4 separate regions of the Homo sapiens genome follow, and all the other regions are linked to region 1. The links are contacts of gene promoters, found by promoter capture Hi-C in human tissues and cell types (Jung and others, 2019). All regions are on one chromosome and are shown on one strand. Each heading gives the region's core, a stretch centred on a gene start or on the middle of the fragment in contact. The rest is flanking DNA. Distances are from core to core; before and after follow the strand shown. Region 1 holds the start of SNRPB (small nuclear ribonucleoprotein polypeptides B and B1). Region 2 overlaps STK35 (serine/threonine kinase 35). Region 3 holds the start of LOC124904859 (a long non-coding RNA gene). Region 4 overlaps PTPRA (protein tyrosine phosphatase receptor type A).

Region 1 (3,284 bases), core at 467-2,966:
TCAACTAATGTTTACTGGGTGCTCACTGTGTATCTGGCACTGTGATAAGCACAGTACATCTCATTTAATCCCCAAAATTGGGCCCATTATTATCCCTATTTTACAGATGAGGTCACTGAGGCTAGGAGAGGTTAAGTAACTTGCCCAGTTTCACAGCTGGGAAGCTGTGTTGGAACCTAGACAAAATGAATCCAGCGCCTATTCTAACCAGTTATCCAAACAATATCCTACCAGGTTTCCCTGCTTCCAGTCCCATCGAATATACATGCCAGAGCTAGAGCAATCTTTCTAAACACCACTAAGCTTATGTCATTTTGCTGGTTAAAATCCTTCAGTGGGCAGGGTGTGGTGGCTCACGGCTGTAATCCCAGCACTTTGGGAGGCCAAGGTGGGTGGATTAACTGAGGTCAGGAGTTCGAGACCAGTCTGGCCAACATGGTGAAACCCCGTCTCTACTAAAAATACAAAAAATTAGCCAAGTGTGGTGGCGGGTACCTACAATCCCAGCTACTTGGGAGGCTGAGGCAGGAGAATCGCTTGAACCCGGGAGGTGGAGTTTGCAGTGAACCCTGATCGATCCACCGCACTCCAGCCTGGGCAACAAAAGCAAAACTCCGTCTCAAAAAAATAAAAATAAATTAAATTAAATCCTTCAATGACATGCCTCACCACCACTGAGGTAAAATTAACATGCAAGGCCTTTAGTAACTAGCCTCCTGCCAATTCTTCCCGTCTTCCCTTCTTTCTTCCTTTCTCCTCCAGCAACTTTTTCTCAGTCAACAAACGCAGAAAAATCCAGTAACTTTTTAAATCTTGTTACCCTTCAGCCTTTGTTCCTTCAGTTCTCCGGGTCTGTAATATTCCCCCCATTTTCGCCGGGAACATTCTTGCTAATCTTTTAGGAATCTGCTCAGGAACCATCTATTTGAGAAAACATTCTTACCCCGCCCCGCTGCCGTTACTTTTACCGAATGACCACACTGAATTATATTATGTGTCCCCAGCTACCTCTGTGAAGGAAGCAAACATATTTCAGAGAGTAGCCCCAGCGCCTGAGAAGTCAGGCACAGGCAAACACGGAAACGTGATGAGCAACTGAGTGGAGCTCTTCCTCCATTCGCCATCACCCTCCTCCGCCCTCCTCTCCATCCAGCAGACCTAGCGAGACTCTAGCGTGGTCCACGAGCCCCTTCCACCCACTTCCGCCAACTCTTTCTCAGACTCACAAACTTCCGCAAGTCTGAGCCTTTTACCGGGTCCCCCTGCGGCTCCAGTGCCTGCTCCGAAGCCCGGGACATATATTTATTCGGCAAAAGTTAACTTAGTGCCTACTGGGTCCCAGGAATTATGGCTACAGCGGTGTCGAGAGCCGCGGTTCTACCCTCGCCCCTGCCGAGCGACCTCGGCCTCCGACACCGGTTCCAACCTTTTCCTCGACCCCATGCCTAGCCGAACCGCCAAGGTCCTGGTCTTTCCCGCCCAGACCGAGCGGCCTCGGCCCAGGCCTTCACCGCCCTAAGTGGCTCCAACCCACGGCTTCCTCCCCGATCAGTCGCGGTTCCCACTCCACAACAGACTCGGAAGCTCCCGCGCCGCCAGCCTGTGCCCTCCTTACCATGGTGGCGGTTCTGATGGCTCTGATACCCGCCGGATTCGCCTCCTCAGAGGCCTAGCCTCTCTCCCACAGCCGATTTCCCGCCGCCGCTACCGGAAATGCAGCACCACGTAAAATGCGGTCGGGTAGAAACCTACTTCCGGTCCAGCTCACTAGCCCTGGAGTTCCGGCCCCGGAGCGGAGCTTCTGCCGAGCAGAGGCGGGGCCTGGGGACTGGGCGTTAACATCCGGCTTTGACGTAAGGAGAGCCTTAAGTTCCTGTTTGGACACCTTCCTAGCTTAAATCCGTACTGAGAGCTGCTCTGTGTCACACTCATTTCTCTTCACCCCGCCTTTCCCATTAACCTCTCGGTCCTCATTTCCCATCACCCTCCCCGGCTCTCTCCTCTACAGTCACTATTCTTGCTTTTCCCTCCACTGGCTGGACGTGCTCCTTTTTCAGCCCCTCTGCATTTGCTTTCGCCTCTGCCTGGAATGGTAGTCCCCAAGGTATACCAGAAGGCTGCTGCCCTCACCTCTTTCAAGGTTTAAGCTTAAATAACATTTTCCCAGTGAGGATTTCCCTAGCCATCCTGTAACCTTCCCACCCACCTCATCCTCATCTCTCCTGTATTTCCCTCTTGCTATCTAACACGCTGTATATTTTTGTTAGTTATTTTATTATCCCCTCCCCATTAGAATGTAAGATCCATAAGGGTGTGAATTTTTCTCTTTGTGTATTACTCATTGCTGTAGTGCCTAGAACACTTTAGCACAAAATAAGGGCTCTACCCATATTTGCTGATAATCGCATCCAGTCGTATGACATTTATTTTTTTTCTATGACTTTTTTTTTTCTTTTGAGACAGAGTCTCAGTCTGTCACCAAGGCTGGAGTGCAGTGGCACAATCTCGGCTCACTGCAACCTCTGCCTCCCCGGTTCAAGCGATTCTCCTGCCTCAGCCTCCCGAGTAGCTGGGAATACAGGCCTGTGCCACCACACTCGGCTAATTTTTGTATTTTTAGTAGAGACGGGGTTTTGCCATGTTGGCCAGGCTGGTCTCGAACTCCTGACCTCAACTCCTGGTCTCGAACTCCTGATCCACCCACTTTGGCCTCCCAAAGTGCTGGAATTACAGGCGTGAACCATCACACTGGGCCCTTCCTATGACTTTTAAATACAGCATATACACCCAAGGCTTTCAAGTTTGTTCCTCTAACCTTGGTCTCTTCATTTAACTCTTGGCCCTTTATATCCAGCTGCCAGCGTGATGTGAATGTCTAATAGGTATACCAAATTTAACATGTTGAAAACTGAATTCTTGATTCTATTCACTGTTTCTAAAACCACTTCACCAGTGTTCCCCATCCCCGAAGTTTCTTGGATTAAAAAAGAAAAAAAAGAAAATGACAAATTTGAAGCATATTTCATTCTTCTCTTTCTCTGCCATCGAATAATCAAATTCATCAGCAAATCCTGTGGCCCCCACCTTCAAATTATCTTGAATATGATTGTTGTCACCCACTCCATTGCGTCCACTCTAGTCATAGCCACCATCGTCTCTGTCTTGGATCATTGAACGAGCCCGTAACTTGTCTCTTTGCTTCCTTTCTTGTTCTCACGGCAGCCAGAGGGATCCTTCTAAACGTACTGGGATATCAGATGATGTCATGTCCTGGTCTCCACTTA
Region 2 (3,344 bases), core at 207-2,706, 350 kb before region 1:
TGGTTTCTAGGTGGGGTTGGCTCATTCCAAGTTGAGCTTGGTTTCATGTGTAGTGTTCTCAGTGAATGTATTTCTCGAGTGAGTCACTTAGGTTTAATTCTTTCATTCTACAAACGTGTGTTCCAGGTGCTGGACCAATTGGGCCTACCACCCGTGGGTAGGAGAACAGCAGTCCCCAAAGCTAGGTTTAGGGTAGTGCTATATTAGAAACCAAAAGGGTTGGCTAGACAGTGTTTTAAATGTATTTTGTGCTGTCACTTCCCATTTCCATCTCATGCTTTCTGCTTTTGAAAGACCTCTTAAAATTCAGATTTGCTCTGGCATAGGAAGGTTGTCATTGGAAGAGGGACCTGAATTTAGGTTACGATTATGGGGTTGTCATAACTAATTGAGATCAGGGCTTCCATGTGGATATCCACACTTGAGATTTGTGCTGTTTTGCAGGGCAGTTTTGGCTAAATTGGAGTGATTCTTTCATGTAGGAGAAATAGGCGACCTTGAGAAGAGGGGAAAAGATTAGGAATATGGTTACTGGTGAGTGTCCCAGGCTGTTTTGTTAATTCATTTTGTGGCTCTTACAGCTAATCTTTACAGTACTGGTGGTGCCAATTTGACCATAGCCTATCCTCCCCTGTCTTAGGTGGGCACTTAGAATTGTGGGCCTGGGCCCAGGTCTGTGACCAGAGCCAAACCCTGTGTTGCCAGAAACTTCAAATCAGCTTCTGTAGAAGAGCTGTATCTGGCTGGTCAGAGAATCTGAGGCTTGACTTGGGAAGAACATTGAGTCTGACCTCCCTTTCCCCTGCCAAGTTTTGTAGATGGACAAGCTAATTTCATTTATTCATTCAACATGTTCTTTGGAAACTCTTTCCAAGTACCATTTTAGACACAGATAATACATCGGTGAACAAAACAGACAAGTTTTTGCAGTATGGAGCTTAACATTCGTTCTGTTGGGAAGACAGTACCCATAGGTAATGTACAAGAAAGTGCTCGGTGCTGGGTGCGGTGAGAGGGTAGGATGGGAAGAGTAGAGCAGGGTAGGGGAGATCTGAAGCTTGGGTGGTGGGGAGGGGTGGGGATGTACTTTTAAATGGAAGATATCAGAGTGGGTCTCCCAGAGACGGTGACCTTTGAGCGAATGTTAGAAGGAGTCGAGGGAGTGAGTCCCAAGGATTTCTGGGGAAAGAGCATCTCAGACAGAAGTAATGGCCACTGTGAAGGTCCTGAAAGTTGGCCAGAGTGAGCAAGGAGTGTATAGGAAGAGATAGATAACTAGGAGCCAAGTAGGCCTCGTAAGCCTCTAGAGATTTTGGCTTGTGTTTTTGGATGAGATGGAAAGCCATGGGGATGTTTTCAGCTGTGTGATATCTGCTCTTTTGAAAGGATCACTTTGCATCTTGAAATAACGGGATAAGATGGGAGGCTGTTGCAATAATCCAGGTGAGAGATGACGATGGCTTGAAACAATGTAACAGAGAAGTGATTATTGGATTTTGGGTATTTTTTTGAAGTCAGAGCCAGCAGGATTTCCGGCCGGATCATATGGGAGGTGTGAGAGAAAGGAATTAATCATCACTTCAAGGTGTCAGCCTAAGTGATGGGAAGAATAGAGCTGCCATTAAATAAGATGGGGAAGACATTGGGGGAATAGGGTTGGCAGGACAAAGTTAGGTTTTAGTTATCTGAAAGTTTGGCATGCCTATTTAGAATCCAACTACAGATGTAGAGTAGGCAGTTGGATGAGTCTGGAGTTCAAGGGAGGGGTCCAGCCTAGAGATACAAATTTAGAGATTTGCCACAGTACTGGAGTGGGTATAGACAAGAGGAGGTCAGAGGACTGAGCTCCAGGTGGTGCAACATTGAGGATGGGAAGAAAGAAAGGAGCCAGAGAGAGGGGAAAAGACATCAAGAGGAGGAGGGAGCCAGCCGTGGCATCATCTGCTAGTTGATTGAGAGGACTTGATCATTGGATTTAGTAAATGGGAAAGCATCAGTACTCATGAACAATTTTGGTGGAGTAATGGGGAAACCTGTAACTAGAGTGGATTTGAGAGGGGAAGAGGAGAGGAATTGGAGACAGTGGAAGAATAGACCAGTAGTTGTCAAAGTATTTTGTCTGAAAGCCTCTTTACATTTTTGAATTTACGGACTCCAAAGAGCTTTTGTTTTGGGTTATATCTGTGGATGTTTGTACTATTAAAAATTAAAATAGGCTGGGCGTGGTAGCTCATGCCTTGTAATCCCAGCACTTTGGGAAGCCAAGTAGGGGCAGATTGTTTGAGCTCACGAGTTTGAGACCAGCCTGGGCAACATGGTGAAACCTGGTCTCTACTAAAAATACAAAAATTAGCCAGGTGTGGTGGCACATGCCATAGGCCCAGTACTTGGGAGACTGAGGCAGGAGAATTGCTTGAACCAGGGAGGCAGAGGTTGCAGTGAGCCAGGATCACACCACTGCACTCCAGCCTGGGCGCCAGAGAGGGACTCTGTCTCAAAAAAACAAAAAAACTCTAGTTGCATAAGTAAACACACTTGACCCCTATACCACCAAGATGAAAAAACACCTCAATGTTTTAGGATTGTAGATTTCAGAGTCGCATTTAAGTCAGGACTAACTAGTTTCAGTTTTTTTGCAAAAATAAAAGGAAATGCATTTTGGGTTGGAAACCTGGGATTCCCCTGAAAGAAGTGGTGTCTAGTAACAATGCAGGGATGGAGTCTCATATCTGCGTTTTCCTGACTGTGTGGCCTTAGGCAAATTATTCCACTTATCAGGGCCGCAGTTTTATTATCTATAAAATGGAGTTGATCCTATATATCTTATTGAGGTTGTTGGGGGAATCACAAGAGGTTGTGAAAGTGCCCTATGTAAACAGTCTGAATTAATTGTAATACAGTAGCATTGTTTAGATCCATACTTTGGCCTAGGTAGAAGTATTGGCTTCCATTTCCCTCTGAAGACAGTGGTCTTTGGTAGCCTCACTTTTGTGGATTGCCAAATAGCTTTTCTTTTGAAACAAAGCTGTAGTCAAGGCCCACGCTGTCCAATCACTTGTTCCAGAAAAGTATATCTATTTTTAAAGACCATTCAGTGATGGGTCTGATCTCTTTCTTATTTGTCGCTTTTGAAAGATGTTTAATAATTCCTAATGGCTCCTACCAGCTAGCCACAGCCTTTTATCCCATGCAGGAAGCCAGCCAAACTGATGTTCCAGGTGCCTCCGCCCACGTGTTACCAGGGAGAGTGTTGTGGGATGAGGGAATCTGCATTCATGGCCAAGTCTGCTGTCTGATATACAAACCTCCGTTACTAGGGCCTTTTGAAGCCAAAGCCCTCGAAT
Region 3 (3,328 bases), core at 665-3,164, 300 kb before region 1:
TTCAGATCATTTCTGATATTTGGCCTAGGGCCTGGGCTGTATGTTCTTACCAGGTGCGGAGGAAGGAAGGAAGGAAGGGAGGGAGGGGAGGGGAGGGGAGGGGAGGAAACTGACGCAGGTAAGAGCATTCACCTCTTTCCCTCTCCAAGGCTCAGTTTCAGGATCATTGTCACAGGTCTGACACGAATCATGTGCAATAATTTTTTGTACATTCATAGGTTTGGAACACGGTATAAAGGGCCTTGAATGCCAGAATGAAGCCTTGGGTTTTATCCTGCAGTCGTTGGGAGCCACTAAGAGTTTCTGAGCAAGAGAGGGACAGGATCCGAACTGTGCTTTGGAAAGATGAACCAGCCGGTGTGCATTCATGCATTCACTCATTCGTTCATTCATTCATTCATCTGACCAAAATGTGCTTTAAACATCTTTTGCATGCCGGGCCCTGGGAATGCAGCAGTGACCAGAGGTGCTGTTGGACTTCATGGAGCTCATGGCCTCGAGTGACATGTGTGGGAGTGGACATTTGGACACAGAGGAGGCATCACCCCAGTCCTAGGCAAGGTGAGCCCTGGGGCAACATAAGGCTCACATAGGCGCCTTAGCTTCTGCCCTGTATGTAGACAGAGCAGGGTGGGAGTCAACTAAGCCACTGATTTAAGTACAGACCCTGGGACAGGGGCAAGCCTGTTGGTCCTCAGCTCCCATCCTAGGTCATGAGAGGCCAACTTGACCAACGCAGGAGGTGTATCTGTTCATTCCCCTCCCCAATCAAATAGATGCAAATAACATGCAAGAGGTCCGAATTTAAAGTATGTTAGTGTTAAATAAATGTATTATGGTCTGCCTGGCGCAATTATAGTCAAACTCAACATGTAGGATGTGACCCACATGAAATACTGAACCGATTTTAGTATCAGACAGCATACTCACTTTGGAGACGAGAAGAGGCAGAGGCCCAGGGACACACCATATGGAGAGATGCACACACGGGCAGGTGTTCATGAATTTACTGCATTCAGGAGGTGAGAAGAAAAAAGAGACAGATTTCATTTTCAGCTCTGGCTGGAGTTACGGTCCTTCCTTTGAAGGAACATGGATGAGGAGCTAGAAGTCCTAGGTACTAGTCCCCACCACAGCCACTTGGTAGCTGTGTCAATTCTAACTGGCCACTGTATTCTCATCTGTACAATGGGTCCAATGACAGGGAAGCATGAAGGAGACCATGGAGGTGTCTTAGGTTGGGATCTCCAGAAGTTGACCCTGAACCAAGGATTCCTGTGAAAATGACTTACTGTGTGTGAAGTATTTCCAGGAACAGCTAGAGGAAGGGGAAGCAGGCAGGGCCAGCAAGACCATGCCCCACCAGGTCTGTCCTGCAAAGGAGGTGGCATAAGTCATACCTCAGAGTTGGCCCATTTGGGGGGCAAGGGAGCTGGGGTATTCATACTCCTGTGCTCATTGGTAATTAGAGGGAGTAAATTCCCCTCTGGAGGACATACCTTTCCAGGCACTTCCAGCTCTCCATACGTACAGGCAAAGCTGGGTCGAGCAGGCTACGAACTGTCCTCTGAAAGACACAGGTGCTGGCTGCTGGGAGTGAGAGCATCCTGGGAGCTGCTGTACACAGTATGGGACCCAAGGGATGGTCTACTGTAGGACGGGAAGTGCTTTGTAAACTGTGAAGTGTGGTACTGGGATTGAGGAGGGTCCTCATCTGGGACTTCCTGCAGCTCACTGATCCGTCTCAGCCAAGTTGTCTTTCCTCGTGGGTCTATTTCTTCCTGGGCAATTGAAGGCAACAACACACACGGATTGTCATGGGTGGAGGGGTGTGGTGAAATGGTAACTACTCTGGTGGTGAGGCTGTGGAGAGGCGTGCACCTTTATGCACTGCTGGTGGGAGTGTAAATTGGCGTAACGTTCTATGGAAGGCAATGTGGCAATGTCTATCAAATTACAAATTCACAAATCCTTCAACCCAGCAATTGTATTTATAGGATTTTGTCCTACAATAGATACTCACACACATGAAACAACATGACAAGCTTATCCGCTGCAACTCTGTAATTGCAAATAAATTAAAACAATTATTGAATAAATTATATACACTCATGAAATGGAATATCCTACAACAATAATAACAATAAAAAGGAGAATGAGGAAGTGGCCTCTGTATTGTTACTGGATGATCTCCAAGCCCCATAGTTAAGTTACAAAAAAGCAAGATAAAGAACTACATATGATATTTCTTTAACAAATTCTTCTATAGCCAAGTATTGTCTTAGGTGCTTTACAAATATGAATCCACTTAGTCCTCCTGACACTCCTGAGATAAATATTATTATGTCCATTTTACAGATGTGAAAACTGAGGCACACAGGTTAAGTAATTTTTTAAAAAACAGGTGTGCACCACCATGCCTAGCTAATTAAAAAACATATATATATATATTTTGTACATATGGGATCTTGCTATGTTGCCAGAGCAGGTCTTGAACTCCTGGGCTTAAGCCGTCCTCCTGCCTTGGCCTCCCAAAGTGTTGGAATTACAGGCGTGAGCCACCACACCCAGCAGGTTTAGTAATTAGATGAAGGTCAGGAAGCTAGTAAATGGCAAAACTAGGATTTGAAGAGGAAGGGGCTCCAGGAGCTGTGTTTTTTGTTTCAGCTTTATTATTATTATTATTATTTTGAAAGTTTTGGGGGAACAGGTGGTATTTGGTTACATGAAGAAGTTCTTTAGTTGTGATTTCTGAGATTTTGGTGCACCCATCACCCGAGCAGCGTATACTGTACCCAGTGGTTAGTCGTTTGTCCCTCACCCCTCCCACCCTTCCCCGAGTCCCCATAGTCCATTGTATCATTCTTATCCCTTTCTGTCCTCACAGCTTAGCCCCCACTTATCAGTGAGAAGATACAATGTTTGGTTTTCCATTCCTGAGTTGCTTTACTTACAATAATGGTATCCAGCTCCATCCAGGTTGCTGCAAAGGACCTGTGCCTTTGTGTTACTAGGTTGTATTTCCTCTCTGTAGCTGAAGATTACTCCTAACTAATCATAACTCCATTTCCCAGTGATTGGTTTGGCAGTGATTGGTTTGAGGAGGGAACACAGCCCAATTCTGGCCAATGAGATATGAGGGGATGTCTGCTAGGGAACTTCCAGGCAAGATTTTCTCACTGATGAAAAGGGATGTCCGGGGAGTCCATCTCCTCTGCTTCTTGAAGTCATGGTGAAGCTGTGGATGGAGCAGCCACCTAGTGATTGGGAGAGTCCAAGCCTGAAGTCAGAGGCCCACACACTGAGGATGGAGGAATGGGAAGACAGG
Region 4 (3,084 bases), core at 168-2,667, 420 kb after region 1:
GGACAAGTATGATTTAAGCAGTAGAGGCATTAGGGTTCTAGATTTCTGGCTTTTTGGAAGAGATGATTGCTAGTTAATGAACTGAGCTTTTGTGTGTGGGAAGAAGTTGAAACCTGGCCCCTGTGAATTGTGCAAGTAGTTCTTAAATATTGATTGACAAATAGCTTAACGAGCAACTAATTTTCAAATATTGGTTGACAAGTGGCTTATTACAATATTGTAAATGCATTGATACTACCATTAGTAAAGAGAATGTCTTCCTTTGATAATGTTAGCAGCACTGTTACCAGAGCAGTGTGGGATAGTTCCAGGACTTTCACTGTCTAAAAGGAACTGGAGGCCCAAGCTTTTACGGGGATACTTCTGCTCTCCTGGTTCCCATGTCCCCAGTGATGTGAATGTCCCTGACTCAGTGCCTCTGCTCACGCTGTCTGTGAGATCACTGCCTTCCAGTGCCTCTTACCTCTTGGGCCTGCCCACTTTGTTAACAGGGACAGATTTCACAGTGATTTCCAGCCAGTATTTCTCTCTCCCCAGTTTGGGGTGTTAGCTAGAATGGTCCCTCAAAGCCCTCAAACACGGATGAGAAATAGAAGAAGCTCAGGGAGACTATACCTGGGCTAGGTTCTTGCTACCAGCTGGTGGAAGACAAAGAAAACCCCTTTTCTTCCTGTATTTCATGCCCAGTGAGCAGTAGTGCCATCAGCAGCAGTTGTGAACCCCTAAATCAGTGATTCTCAATATGACTGACATGGTGGGGAAGACGTAAGTTTGAAAATGCATTTTCAGGCTAGGTGTGGTGGCTCACACCTGTAATCCTAGCACTTTCGGAGGCCAACATGGGAGGATCACTTGAGCCCAGGAGTTCGAGACCAGCCTGGGCAACATAGTGAGACCCTGCTTCTACAGAAAAATAAAAGCTAGCCAGGTGTAATGGCATGCACCCATAGTCCTAGCTACTTGGGAGGCTGAGGTGGGAGGATTGCTTAAGCCCAGGAGATCAAGGCTGCAGTGAACATACCACAGCACTCCAGCCTGGGCAGCAGAGTGAGACCCCTGTCTCAAAAAGAAAAAGCATTTAAAAAAAAAAAAGGTTTGTTAGTGTTTGTCTCAAAATTTTGCTTAATTTAAAATTATGTATATATTTGAATAATATGTGTCCATGTTAATAGTTCTAAAAGTATATATAGTATATATAGTAAAAGGTAGTTTTCTCTCCCCCTGCCTTTCAGCTTTCCCTTTCCATAGGCATCCACAAGTACTATGAGCAATACTTGTGAAACCATGCTGAAATACTACATGCTCATAAAATGTAAGTTACTTAAGTTTGGTATTTCAAGTAACAATAAGGGAAGATAGGAGAGTTTTATGTTTATCAAAAGGGGTGAATGTTATAGCAGATTGAGATGAGATGTTCTTACCTTTGGGTGGGATCTTAAGTGGAGCTCAATTCGGTTTCCCCAATGTTAGTGGGAGAGATTACTTAAACCATCCATACTTATCCAGTTGTACTTGGTAAGTTTTCAAAGGTTCTACTTTGAAGAGGGCTTTTGTTGAGCAAGTAGTGGTTAATAGAGCAGCTCAGTTACATGTGTAAGTTTTTTGATGTGGGAAAAGGGCTTTTGTATACAGAAGGACTATTTTAAAATTATTTGGGCTTTAAATTAACATGTATTAAAGTGGTAAATTTAAAACCCAGTTTTCTTTTAGTCTTGTTATTGTACTTGTAAGCATAGGCATTTTGTATAGAAATAAGAATAGTAATTTTCACCTGCTTGTCAATTAAGTTAATATAAATTTAACAGATTTAATTGCTCCAGGCCCCTTACTTAGTGAATTAAATTTCCTTAGATGTTTAAAATACATTTACACAGTCAGTCTGTCAGGCACAGTCAGTCCTTGACAGGTCAGAGTTACCACCTTAAACAGAAACTTCTTAAGCTCTTGGGCAATCTGTGATACTAAGAAATTAAATTTGTAAATGTAGTAAAACAGGTTTTGGTTAAGACTTCCAGTGCTTTTCATTAGCTGAATCTGAATTACCAACATTTAAAAAACACATACCCTAAACTTAACGCAAAAGTACTACTAGTACCATGAGTTTGATATACCATACCTCATTTTATTGCTCATGTCTTTTCTTTCTGGGATTGTGATGCCACTTACCCAATTAAGGAGGACAGTTTTATCATCTCAGAAAGCCATGGTTATCAGATTAAAAATACAGAATCATGATACAGTTATTATTGGTCAGAGATTTGAGACTGGGAAAGGGAACTAAGGGGTCTGTGTTTCCAGGATAATTCTACTCAAGAGATGCTGTGCCTTTCCTTATGTTAAGAGTCCTGAATGTGGCATCAAAGGGGGAATCCATGTTCAGAGTTTGTTTTGCAACCCCCCATACCTTTTTTTGAGACAGGATCTTGGTAGGTTGCCCATGCTGGTGTGCAGTGGTGCAATCATGGCTCACTGCAGCCTTGACCTCCTGGGCTCAAGTGATCCTCCCGCCTCAGCCTCCTGAGTAAGTAGCTGGGACCACAGATGTACGTCATCATGCCCAGCTAATTTTTTGATTTTTTTTTTTTTTTTGTAGAGATGAGGCCTCACTATGAGCCTAGGATGATCTCAAATTCCTGGCCTCAAACAGTCCTCCCGCCTCAGCCTGCCCAAGTGCTGGGATTACAGGCATAAGCCACCATGCCTGGCCTTTTCTTCAAAAATAACCCTTCAATCAATTTTTTTTTTCCTGGTCAAATTGGATTTTGTGTTTCTTTTATATATTCCTTGTCAGGCCCTACAGTTATTTTAATTTTGGGTGTTGGATAGACTAGGGTTCATATTCCATGCCTGCCATGCTTTTTGTGAACTTGGGCAAAATAGTTAGCTCTTCTGAGACTCACTTTTGTCACCTAGTAAATGGGTTCAGCTGTAGTACTCTATGTATTTGTTTGTTTTAAGCATTAGATAGTGCGTGGTAAATGCTTAGCACAGTTCTTAGCACATAGTAAATCTTTAATAAATGTTAGAAAATATAATGATCTTGATTCTCTGTCTTCCCTCCCTAGTAGTTGATTTGGGGCACAG

What was found. Contacts are between HindIII fragments. The study calls those that stand out against the background at their distance.
Region 2: a fragment that was not itself captured here is called in contact with the fragment with the promoter of SNRPB in region 1 in 1 of the 25 tissues and cell types used here (lymphoblastoid cells).
Region 3: a fragment that was not itself captured here is called in contact with the fragment with the promoter of SNRPB in region 1 in 2 of the 25 tissues and cell types used here (IMR-90 fibroblasts and lymphoblastoid cells).
Region 4: a contact is called between a fragment that was not itself captured here and the fragment with the promoter of SNRPB in region 1, in 1 of the 25 tissues and cell types used here (hippocampus).

What each region holds. Positions count from the first base shown.
Region 1 is chr20:2,469,073-2,472,356 of GRCh38, forward strand. SNRPB (small nuclear ribonucleoprotein polypeptides B and B1) reads right to left here and starts at 1,717. Exons shown (of 7, transcript NM_003091.4): 1 at 1,616-1,717. The coding sequence starts at 1,618. RefSeq lists enhancers at 1,337-1,456, 1,617-1,666, 1,677-1,726. The HindIII fragment of the contact is 7,557 bases long and covers 1-3,284 here.
Region 2 is chr20:2,119,836-2,123,179 of GRCh38, forward strand. All of the region lies in intron 3 of STK35 (serine/threonine kinase 35), which reads left to right. LOC124900458 (a long non-coding RNA gene) reads left to right here. Exons shown (of 2, transcript XR_007067499.1): 1 at 1-3,344. Among named protein-coding and RNA genes, the nearest start is that of STK35, 20 kb to the left of the region's middle. The HindIII fragment of the contact is 6,505 bases long and covers 1-3,344 here.
Region 3 is chr20:2,172,850-2,176,177 of GRCh38, forward strand. LOC124904859 (a long non-coding RNA gene) reads left to right here and starts at 326. Exons shown (of 2, transcript XR_007067500.1): 1 at 326-561. The HindIII fragment of the contact is 5,428 bases long and covers 1-3,328 here.
Region 4 is chr20:2,887,490-2,890,573 of GRCh38, forward strand. The region is part of intron 1 of PTPRA (protein tyrosine phosphatase receptor type A); the gene reads left to right. Among named protein-coding and RNA genes, the nearest start is that of PTPRA, 16 kb to the left of the region's middle. The HindIII fragment of the contact is 7,740 bases long and covers 1-3,084 here.